Regions from separate parts of the Homo sapiens genome. Here all the other regions are linked to region 2. Evidence: promoter capture Hi-C in human tissues and cell types (Jung and others, 2019). All regions are on one chromosome and are shown on one strand. The core of a region is centred on a gene start or on the middle of the fragment in contact, and the rest is flanking DNA. Distances in the headings are between cores, read along the strand shown.

Region 1 (2,959 bases), core at 257-2,756, 140 kb after region 2:
GAACTTGTGTTGGCTTTTGAGAGATGCATAGGACTCCCACAGGCAGAGTGAAATAAGGGCATTTTAGATGGACAAACACACAGACAGAAGCAGAAATGTGGGTGGTGTGACTGGGGTATAGTGAGGGGCTGCTGTGGCTGGAATGGAGGGCTGCCACAATAATGGAAATGGTAAATGAGGCAAATAAGGTTGGACTGGTGGCATAGCGTCAAGGTTGCCAGCTTTATTAAATCACTCTTCCAATATGCTAGCACTGGCCTGTTGGGAAAAGTAATATATCATGTAATCGAACAAAAGACAAACAGAGGCAAGCTCCAGGAATGGGCACTGTAAACAGGACTTGCCCCAGAGTAGCCAGATGTAGGCTTTAGATAAGTTGATGCAGGCTGAGCATCTCTAATCTGAGGGGGAATGTCTCACATGGTGTCCAAGAAATGGTGACACATCTCACAGAGGGTCTAGGCTCAGGAGGGCTAGAGTATGAGACGTTCCCCCTCGCCTGTGAACTTAAAAATGTGGCCAACAATTTTTGTAAAAGATGGCTACTCTGTAGTGCTTTAACTGGACCTATTTAGACAATGCCTTACACACTGGAGGACGATACTGTGTAAATCTAATAAGTCTACAAGACAATACTTCTGTCTTTTGGCTCTCTCCTTCCTCTCCAGGGTGATGACAAATCCGTGAGGGTGGAGATTATACCTCTCTCATCATTTCAGCACCAAGGAAATAAATTAGTGGCAGAGTAAGGGTGACTTGATGAGTACATCCAATTGTTGACATAGTTTTGGGTGGAGAAATTTTGCTATTATATCGACTTCTTAAAATAGTCTAGTGGGATTAACTTGGTTTCAATTCACAGAGATCTGGAAGCGAGGATCTTTTAAAAATCCTGAAATATACACTGCAATAAAAGAACAAAGCATACACCTCAGCCTTAAATGACTGAAGAAGTATGTCAAGTAGCAGCAGGTGGGAAAGTGGCTTTGGTTTTCAGTTTGTGAGCTCTGAATCCACACAGAAACAGGACTGCATTCTGACAACCTGAATTAATTATTGTCCTTACCACAATGAGGCAGAAAAGTATAATAAAAATCATTAGTATTTCAGTCACAATTAATGCCAAGATGAGTTTGTCAGTATAGCCATATCCTGGAACTTATTTTGTGAGCTAAAAAAAACAAAAAAACAAAACAAAAAAAAACACACCAGAATGAGAGCTAACTATTCAAAACCCCAGTATTCCAGGTGAGTAGCTTACAGGTTCTTTTTTATTTTTTTGAAAGAGGGTCTCACTCTGTTACCCAGGCTGGGGTACAGTGGTGCAATCACCGTTCACTAGACTCGACCTCCCTGGGCTCAGGTGACCCTCCCACCTCAGCCTCCCAAGTAGCTGGGACTACAGGCACGTGTCATCAACCCAGCTAATTTTTTTATTTTTTGTGGAGACAGGCTTTCACTATGTTGGCCAAGCTGGTCTCAAACTCCTGACTTCAAGTAATCCACCCACCTTGGCCTCCCAAAGTGCTGAGATTACAGGCATGAGCTACCACCCCTGGCCTACAGTTCATCTTGTGCCCTAATCTATATTTCACTCTCTACATGAGCAAAGTGGGAGATCACTGTCATGACCAAAGTTACATGGCCAAGATAAGCTATGGCCTGGGAGTCCCAGATTCTTCTGTGTGGGCACTTTCCTGGGATATGCTAAATGATGGGAAATCTGGGTCTCATGTTTCTGTGTGGTCCTCACCTCAAGCGACTTCTCTTTCTGTTCACTCTGGGCTTCCGTGCTCTCATTAATGTAGTTCTGAGTCTTCCATTGGTCCGTATCCCATTCTATCTCAGATGCCTTTACTTCCTGCTGCCCACTGAGAAGCTTCATCAGGTGGCCTGTCCTGGAGATGAGCTTGGCACAGGTCACTTGCACATGGGCCCCAGAGCAGTCCATCTTCAAGGTCCGGATAACATGAGAAATGAGCCTTCTCACATTGTTGGGGATAAGGGACTGTAGCTGCTGGGTTAGCTGAATTTCAAACTGAGCAATGGGTAATTGAAGCTTTTGGGCTCGGGGGACAGGTCAGTGCCCACGTTGTTGTATTCCCATTTTGTCTCAGTTTGTTTAACAGTTGGCCCTAAGTTGAATGCAGTCCCAGCGGAATCTGCCTCAGGAGGATGATTGTAGTTTGTGTTTTCAGAGATGGTGACTTCTGGCATGTTAGTGTTTTCCATAAAAACATTTTCTTCCAAGGCATTTCTTGCAGTTGTGTCTTTTATATTAGTGGTTTCTATAAAATGTTCTGAAGGAGCAGATACTTCCAGAAAAGGGTTTTCTTGAGGACTCAGGTCTCCTAAGGATGAAAAAGCCCCTTGTGAAGGGGAATTTATGAGGCTCTTCGCTGCAGAGAACGGAGGCCTGTTTGCGAGCATCAGTCTACTCAGATAACTTTTCTTTCTGAACTTTGGACTCTTTTTGACCTTGGGTGTTCTGTGGGTCATGCGGGAGCGAGTTTTGTGAAAGCGGTATTTTTTTCTGGAATGTGAAATTGGTTTAGAAGCCTTCATATTTGTAACTCTAGCCTTTGCACTTTCTAAAATGGAAATAGTGTGTGTGTTGTCTTTCCATCTGTCTCTCACCTGTGGTAGGGCTTTTGCAGGGCTGGAGGTAGAAGGCGCGCCCTTGGAGAAGGGTGTCAGCACAGAGACTGCTGCCTTATGCTCTTGGGTGAACGAAGGCTTGGTGTAGATGGCGTTTCCCGCTAACTTCTCAGGCCCCTGCTGTGTGTGAGGCTGTTCCAGCTCCCTTGGGGCTGGACTCCCGAGCCTTTTTTCTTCGGCAGCGTTCTCCACAGATGCCTGGGCACCCTGTTCCCTCCTGATGCTCTGCCTTCCCACCTCTTTGAAGTGCCTTTTCTGGATGCTCCTTGGGCCCATGAGGACTCTATTCACTTTTTGCTGG
Region 2 (2,981 bases), core at 409-2,908:
TGAGTGAAGCCATCTTGAATCTTTCAGCCCTAGCCAAGCCAGTGCTGGTGATGTTCTTCTATATCTGTGTGACTGTCCAATATGGCAGTCACTAGCCACATACAGGGCTACTGAATCCTTGGAATGTGGCTAGGGCATCTGAAGAACTTCATTTTTAATTTCATTTTAACTTAAACTTTAAATAGCTAATGGCTACTTTCCAGGCCAGTGTAAAAGTCTGTTACCACTCAAGTCATCCAGCATAATCCCGCTAAAGCAACTGGGCACAGGGCAGCCAAAAATCATCTTAGCACCTGCCCTTTAGGGGCTATAAGTATATATACAGTGACAAGACAAGGCGGTGGAGAAGGATGCAGTGTAGCTCTGTCAGCCTTGTTTTTAAAAATGAAAGAAAAAATATCTCCCTCTAACATCACCCAAAGGGAAATTTCCAAGCAATGGAATATATCATGATTCTCACATCTAGCCTAGAGAGCTCCTGACTAGAAAAGTAACTTTCAAAAACTGTTTCCTCATCTGCTGAAAAACAAAATTTAAACAGTCCCCTGGTTCACTCTTTTTGGGGGGAGAAGGGGAGCAGAAAGGAAATATGAGAGAGTCTACATTGCATGCTAGACACGGCCACATTTATAATACATCGAATTCTCTTAATCCTTTTTTTTCAAACTAAGCGAACATAAGTTCAGAGAGGTAATTTGCCAAGGACCTATGACTAGTTAGTGCTAAAGATAAAATTCAAAACCAGGCCTCTGAATTTCCGACCCCCTACTCTTCCCACCACAGCGGAATGCCTCACCTATCAAAAATAAAAATTTCTAATGGCCTATTGAGCTTTTCCATGATCTCTTCACCTAAGTAACTATTTCCAATTAATGCCTTCTTAGCAGACTGATCCCATTTTTCCTCCCTTCACTTTCCTATACTTCTTTTTCCTCTAATTTTACCCATCCTTCAAACTCCATTTTAAACTTTTTTTTCCTTCCATAGAACTTTCCTTATCTTATCACAATTGCCCTCTCTGAATTTTTATATTACTTATAATAGGCACCATATAATATAGCGTTCTCTGTTACACTGCTTTTCCCTTAAATAGACCTTAATCTCCTTGAAGACAGAAGCTATCCTATGTCTTTGGGGAGTGGCAATCTTTCCAAATTTCTTTAGCTTTCCCCCAGAGCCGTGAGTAGATACTTCTGGAATGGACGAATGATCTAAACTCAATAGACAAATACTTGTTGATTCATTAAAGACAGCCCCAAACTCTGCTGTTTCACCCTTTGCTTCATAATCTACAGCACACCAATTAATCCAAAAGGGCTGAGGGGCTAATCCACACTGCAGCCCCGCCACGTAACGCTACCCGCCCGCGCTGTCACGCCACGCCCAGCCTGCTGGTTGCAGATTTGGCGTAGCCCAACCCTGGGACGGCCGATTGGGCGTGGTGTGCGTGGCTGAAGGCGTGGCTGAGAAGAGAAACCTACGCTTTGGGTCAGACTCGGTAGCTTCCGGTAATCTTCGACAATTTCCGGCAACGGTTTTCTCTCTCGTCGACCAACCTCGGGTATTTCCGACTCCCTTCGGGCTTTTCCGTCTGGTTCCCGCTCGGCTTTCTCCACTTCGGGTATTCCCGTGTCCCGCTCGGAAGCACTCGGCAATCGCTCGGCCTCCCCCATCCCCCGGTAACGGTCGCTGGTGAGTTTAAATGAGCAGGGGCTGGCCGGGCCGGAGCCGCTACAGGGGGGGCCTGAGGCACTGCAGAAAGTGGGCCTGAGCCTCGAGGATGACGGTGCTGCAGGAACCCGTCCAGGTAATGATAACCTTCTTCTCTGGGGCTTGGCTGGCAGCCTCGGTCGGGAAGCAGCAGCGTAGGGCCACTCCGCGGCCTGGTGCGGCCTAGGCCCGGCTGCTTCTCCCGCCTCCCCTGCTGCCGTGTCCTGCCTATCTTTAGTCAGTTCGGAGGCCTTGCCCACAGCCTAAGCCGTGTTACCTCTGGCCCTACATTACTTCACCCTTAGCGTGAGCGGCTTCGGCGAAAATAACCGCCTTTCCCGTCCGAGCCAACGTCCGGCCAGCCTTTCCTGTCAGTCCAGGGGCCTGGCTTGACTGGGGGTGGGAGATGAGGGGCCGAAAATGCACCCCAAGCGCTCTCTTGCCTAAAAGATGATCGAGAAGCACATTTGATCGGAGCTTGTGTGATCTTCGTGACGGTAGGGCAAGTTTACGGAGGTTTTTTTTATTTTGTCTTGTATGAGAGGGTGGAGGGAGCGTAGGATCGGTCTTTTTAATACTAATTTCTATTTTGGTAACAGACTTCCTATCCCACGTTTCCTTTCTCGGTGAATTTCCCACCGGACAATGATGGTTTGAGAAGACAACTCCAAGCCTCAGTGCTGAGGCGCAAGCACCAATACCAGGGGAGGAGGTGGAAAGGGCACATTTGGGTTGTTTTCATCCTCTCTGATGGGGATCAGGAGCATTTTGTTGTGCATGTTTATAAGGCATTCAGGAAATGAAACACAAATAATGGTGTTTCTGTCCATTTCACTGCCTTTACACCAGGGTATGCTTTGACGCACAGTGCTGTGTTGCATTAAAGGAACCCTATTGGATTTTAAGTGTGTGATGCGGTGCCAAGTCATTTTCCCCCCTGACATCTGGAGAAACTGTATCTTTTGTGCCTTGGTAATGGACCAGGTCTGGGAGACTTCATCCCACTATATGATCTTTAACTTGATCAGAATTGACCTCTATCAACTGCTGTCATTGAGTCATGGACTTTATTTTGAAGTTATAAAGCAAACTGATTTTTAGAAATTCCTTCATATTGCCCTTAAAAGGCTTGAGGTATCAAACAGTAAATATTTTAATATATCACTACTTTCATATTTATTTCATTTTTCTAAACAGCATGAAATACTCATTTCTTCTAGTTTGGTTTTTTTCTCCAGCTGTTTACATATAGCAGCTATTAGTGTTTGAAT
Region 3 (2,869 bases), core at 73-2,572, 250 kb before region 2:
CAGGTGTAATGGTGTGTGCCTGTAGTCCCAGTTACTTGCAAGGCTGAGGCAAGAGGTTGCTTGAGCCCAAGAGTTGGAGGCTGCAGTGAACCATGATCATGCCACCTGCACTCCAGCCTGAGCAACAAGCAAGACCCTCTCCCTAAAAGAAATAAATAAATTAGAAATCAATAATAATTAAGATATCTAGAAAATGTCCCAATATTTGGAAATTAAAGACTACATTTCTAAATAACCTACACTTCAAAGAAAAAATCATTAGGTAAATTAGAAAATATTTTAGTAAATGATAAAAAGCACAACATAACAACGTTTGTGAGATGCAATGAAAGACATATTAGGGGAAAATTTGCAGTTTTAATGTTAGAAAAGGATAAAAATCAGTTATCTAAGCTTCTATCTTAACAAGCTAGCAAAGAAGGGTAAATGAAGCCCAAAGTAAACAAAGACCAAATGATAGTAACAATAAAAATATAAACCAATGAAAAAGAAAAACAAAAGAGAAAAGTTAACAAAAATTAACAAAATCACCATTTGTGTAAAATTATTAATAAATTTAATAACTCCCTAGCAAGACTGGTTACAAACAAAAAAGAGAAAATAGAAATTACAAACATCAGGAATGAAAAATAAGACATCACACTATAGACATTAAAAGGATAATAAGGGGATATTATGAACAATTTCATGACAATAAACCTGACAAATTACATAAAATAAACTTTGACAAGACACAGTTCCACTTATAGAAAGTATATTTCTTCTTTATGATACTTACAGAAAGATATAGTGACAACTACAGAAAGATTTAGAAGAGGGAGGCTCTAAAGAGCTATATATCCATTGAATAAATAGAGCTCAATATTTTAAATCTTCAGGAATAGATGGTGAATTCTACCAAACATTTAATGAAAACAATAATCCTAATCATAATCATAAACTGATATGGTTTGGCTGTGTCCCCACCCAAATCTCACCTTGAATTGTAATAATCCTCAAGTGTCAAGGGTGGGGCCAGTGGACATAATCGAATCATGGGGGCAGTGTCCCCATAAGTGAATAAGTCTCACGAGATTTAATGGTTTTTATAAATGGGAGTTCCCCTGCACAAGCCCTCTTGCCTGCCGCCATGTAAGAGGTGAATTTGCTCCTCATTCGCCTTCCACCATGATTGTGAGGTCTCCCCAGCCATATGGAACTGTGAGTCAGTTAAACCTCTTTCTTTTATAACTTACCCAGTCTCAGATATTTCTTTATTAGCAGCATTAGAACCAACTAATGCACAAACTCAACCAGAAATAAAAAAGGGAGGGAAGACTTCCCAACTCATTTTATGAGGTCAGCATAACCCTAACAAAAAAATCTGGAAAAGACACTAAAAGAAAACTATAGACCAATATCCCTCATAAACATACTCTCAAAAATCTTTAATAAAATATTAGAAAATCAATAAGGTTAAGAGCTCTGTTGTATAACATGGTGACTACAGTTAATAACAATGTATAATATTTTTGAAAATTGCTAAGAGAAAAGATTTTGTGTTCTCATCACAAAAATAGGTATGTGAGGTAAAACACGTTAATTAATTCAATTTAGCCATTCCACAATGTATGTACATATTTTGAATCATGCAATATACAGTACATACAATTTGTATTTGTCTATTTAAAAATTAAAGGGTGACTATAGTTAATAATGTATTGAATGTTCTCACTACAAAGAAATGATAAATGTTTGAGCTGATGGTGTGAAAGGAAAATAAATCTCGGTATCCCAAAATCACTAAGCCAAAGGGAAAAGTCAAGCTGGGAACTGTGTCAGGCAAACCTACCTCCCATTCTATTCCTAAAGGAGATAGCAACAGAGATAAAAAATAAAATAAAATAAAATAAAATAAAATAAAAGAAGAAGCTACATTAACTCCCTCACAATTTGCCCATAAGGAAATTCCCCGCTTCAAATTGTCTTTCCCCTGCCCTTCTGGCCAATGTACATCTTACATGTATTGATTGATATTTCATGTCTCCCTAAAATGTATAAAACCAAGCTGTGCCCCAACCACCTTAGGCACATGTGTCAGGACCTCCTAAGTCTGTGTCATGGGCACACCCTTAACCTTGGCAAAAATAAGCTTTCTAAATTAATTGAATCCTGTTTCTGATATTTGGGGTTCACAATGGGTTGCTACTTACACTGATTTGATTATTATACAATGTATAAATGAAAGTACAATTATGTATCAATTTAAACATTTTTTAAAACACTTCTAATGTGTAGATTAACTTCTTCATTTATATTTAAATATGAATCTTCAGCAAAATAGCAAAAGTAACCATCTTGATTTAATGTCCTAGTATTTTCTTCCAAAAAATGAATTGTATAACCTTAGGTGAGGACAATAAAATCAGTTAAACTGTAAGTTTAGAACAGATCTGAGGGATAATTTTGCACAGCAGCTTTACTAATGGTACATTGTTGATTCAACAAAATGTTGGTTACACATACACACACACACACACACACACACACACACACACACACACACACAACTTAGTGGGAAACAAACAGCCAAAGGGATCAGTACCTCAACTTTGGGGGTCCTCAAATAAAGCTTTATTTGGAATTTGTAATACTGCAACCAGAACCAATCAGAATCCATTTTTTCTAGGGAGGGTTGGTAGTATAAATGAGAGTATAAACAAAGTAAATTCAAGGTATATGCATGCAATGACTGCCAAACTCAAACCACTTCATATTTAATCATTTACATGATATTCCACAAAAGGCAAAACTAGAGGGACAAAGAATGAATCAGTAGTTGCCAGGGGCTCAGGGTAGAGGAAGAAATGGATTACCAAAAGGGCATAAG

Evidence for each region. The method cuts DNA at HindIII sites, captures the fragments that hold promoters and counts their contacts. A contact is called where the count stands out against the background at its distance.
Region 1: a contact is called between a fragment that was not itself captured here and the fragment with the promoter of CDC27 in region 2, in 1 of the 25 tissues and cell types used here (mesenchymal stem cells).
Region 3: a contact is called between a fragment that was not itself captured here and the fragment with the promoter of CDC27 in region 2, in 4 of the 25 tissues and cell types used here (H1 embryonic stem cells, heart left ventricle, lymphoblastoid cells and 1 more).

What each region holds. Positions count from the first base shown.
Region 1 is chr17:47,049,508-47,052,466 of GRCh38, reverse strand. All of the region lies in intron 3 of LOC101927060 (a long non-coding RNA gene), which reads left to right. It also overlaps the pseudogene LRRC37A17P. Among named protein-coding and RNA genes, the nearest start is that of RPRML, 72 kb to the right of the region's middle. The HindIII fragment of the contact is 5,470 bases long and covers 1-2,959 here.
Region 2 is chr17:47,187,972-47,190,952 of GRCh38, reverse strand. It overlaps CDC27 (cell division cycle 27), which reads left to right and starts at 1,658. Exons shown (of 19, transcript NM_001256.6): 1 at 1,658-1,807. The coding sequence starts at 1,781. It also overlaps a transcript of MYL4 not described here. RefSeq lists enhancers at 1,734-1,923, 1,454-2,050 and a silencer at 2,084-2,133. The HindIII fragment of the contact is 11,296 bases long and covers 1-2,981 here.
Region 3 is chr17:47,441,034-47,443,902 of GRCh38, reverse strand. EFCAB13 (EF-hand calcium binding domain 13) reads right to left here. Exons shown (of 25, transcript NM_152347.5): 25 at 2,591-2,869. Among named protein-coding and RNA genes, the nearest start is that of NPEPPS, 89 kb to the left of the region's middle. The HindIII fragment of the contact is 4,140 bases long and covers 1-2,869 here.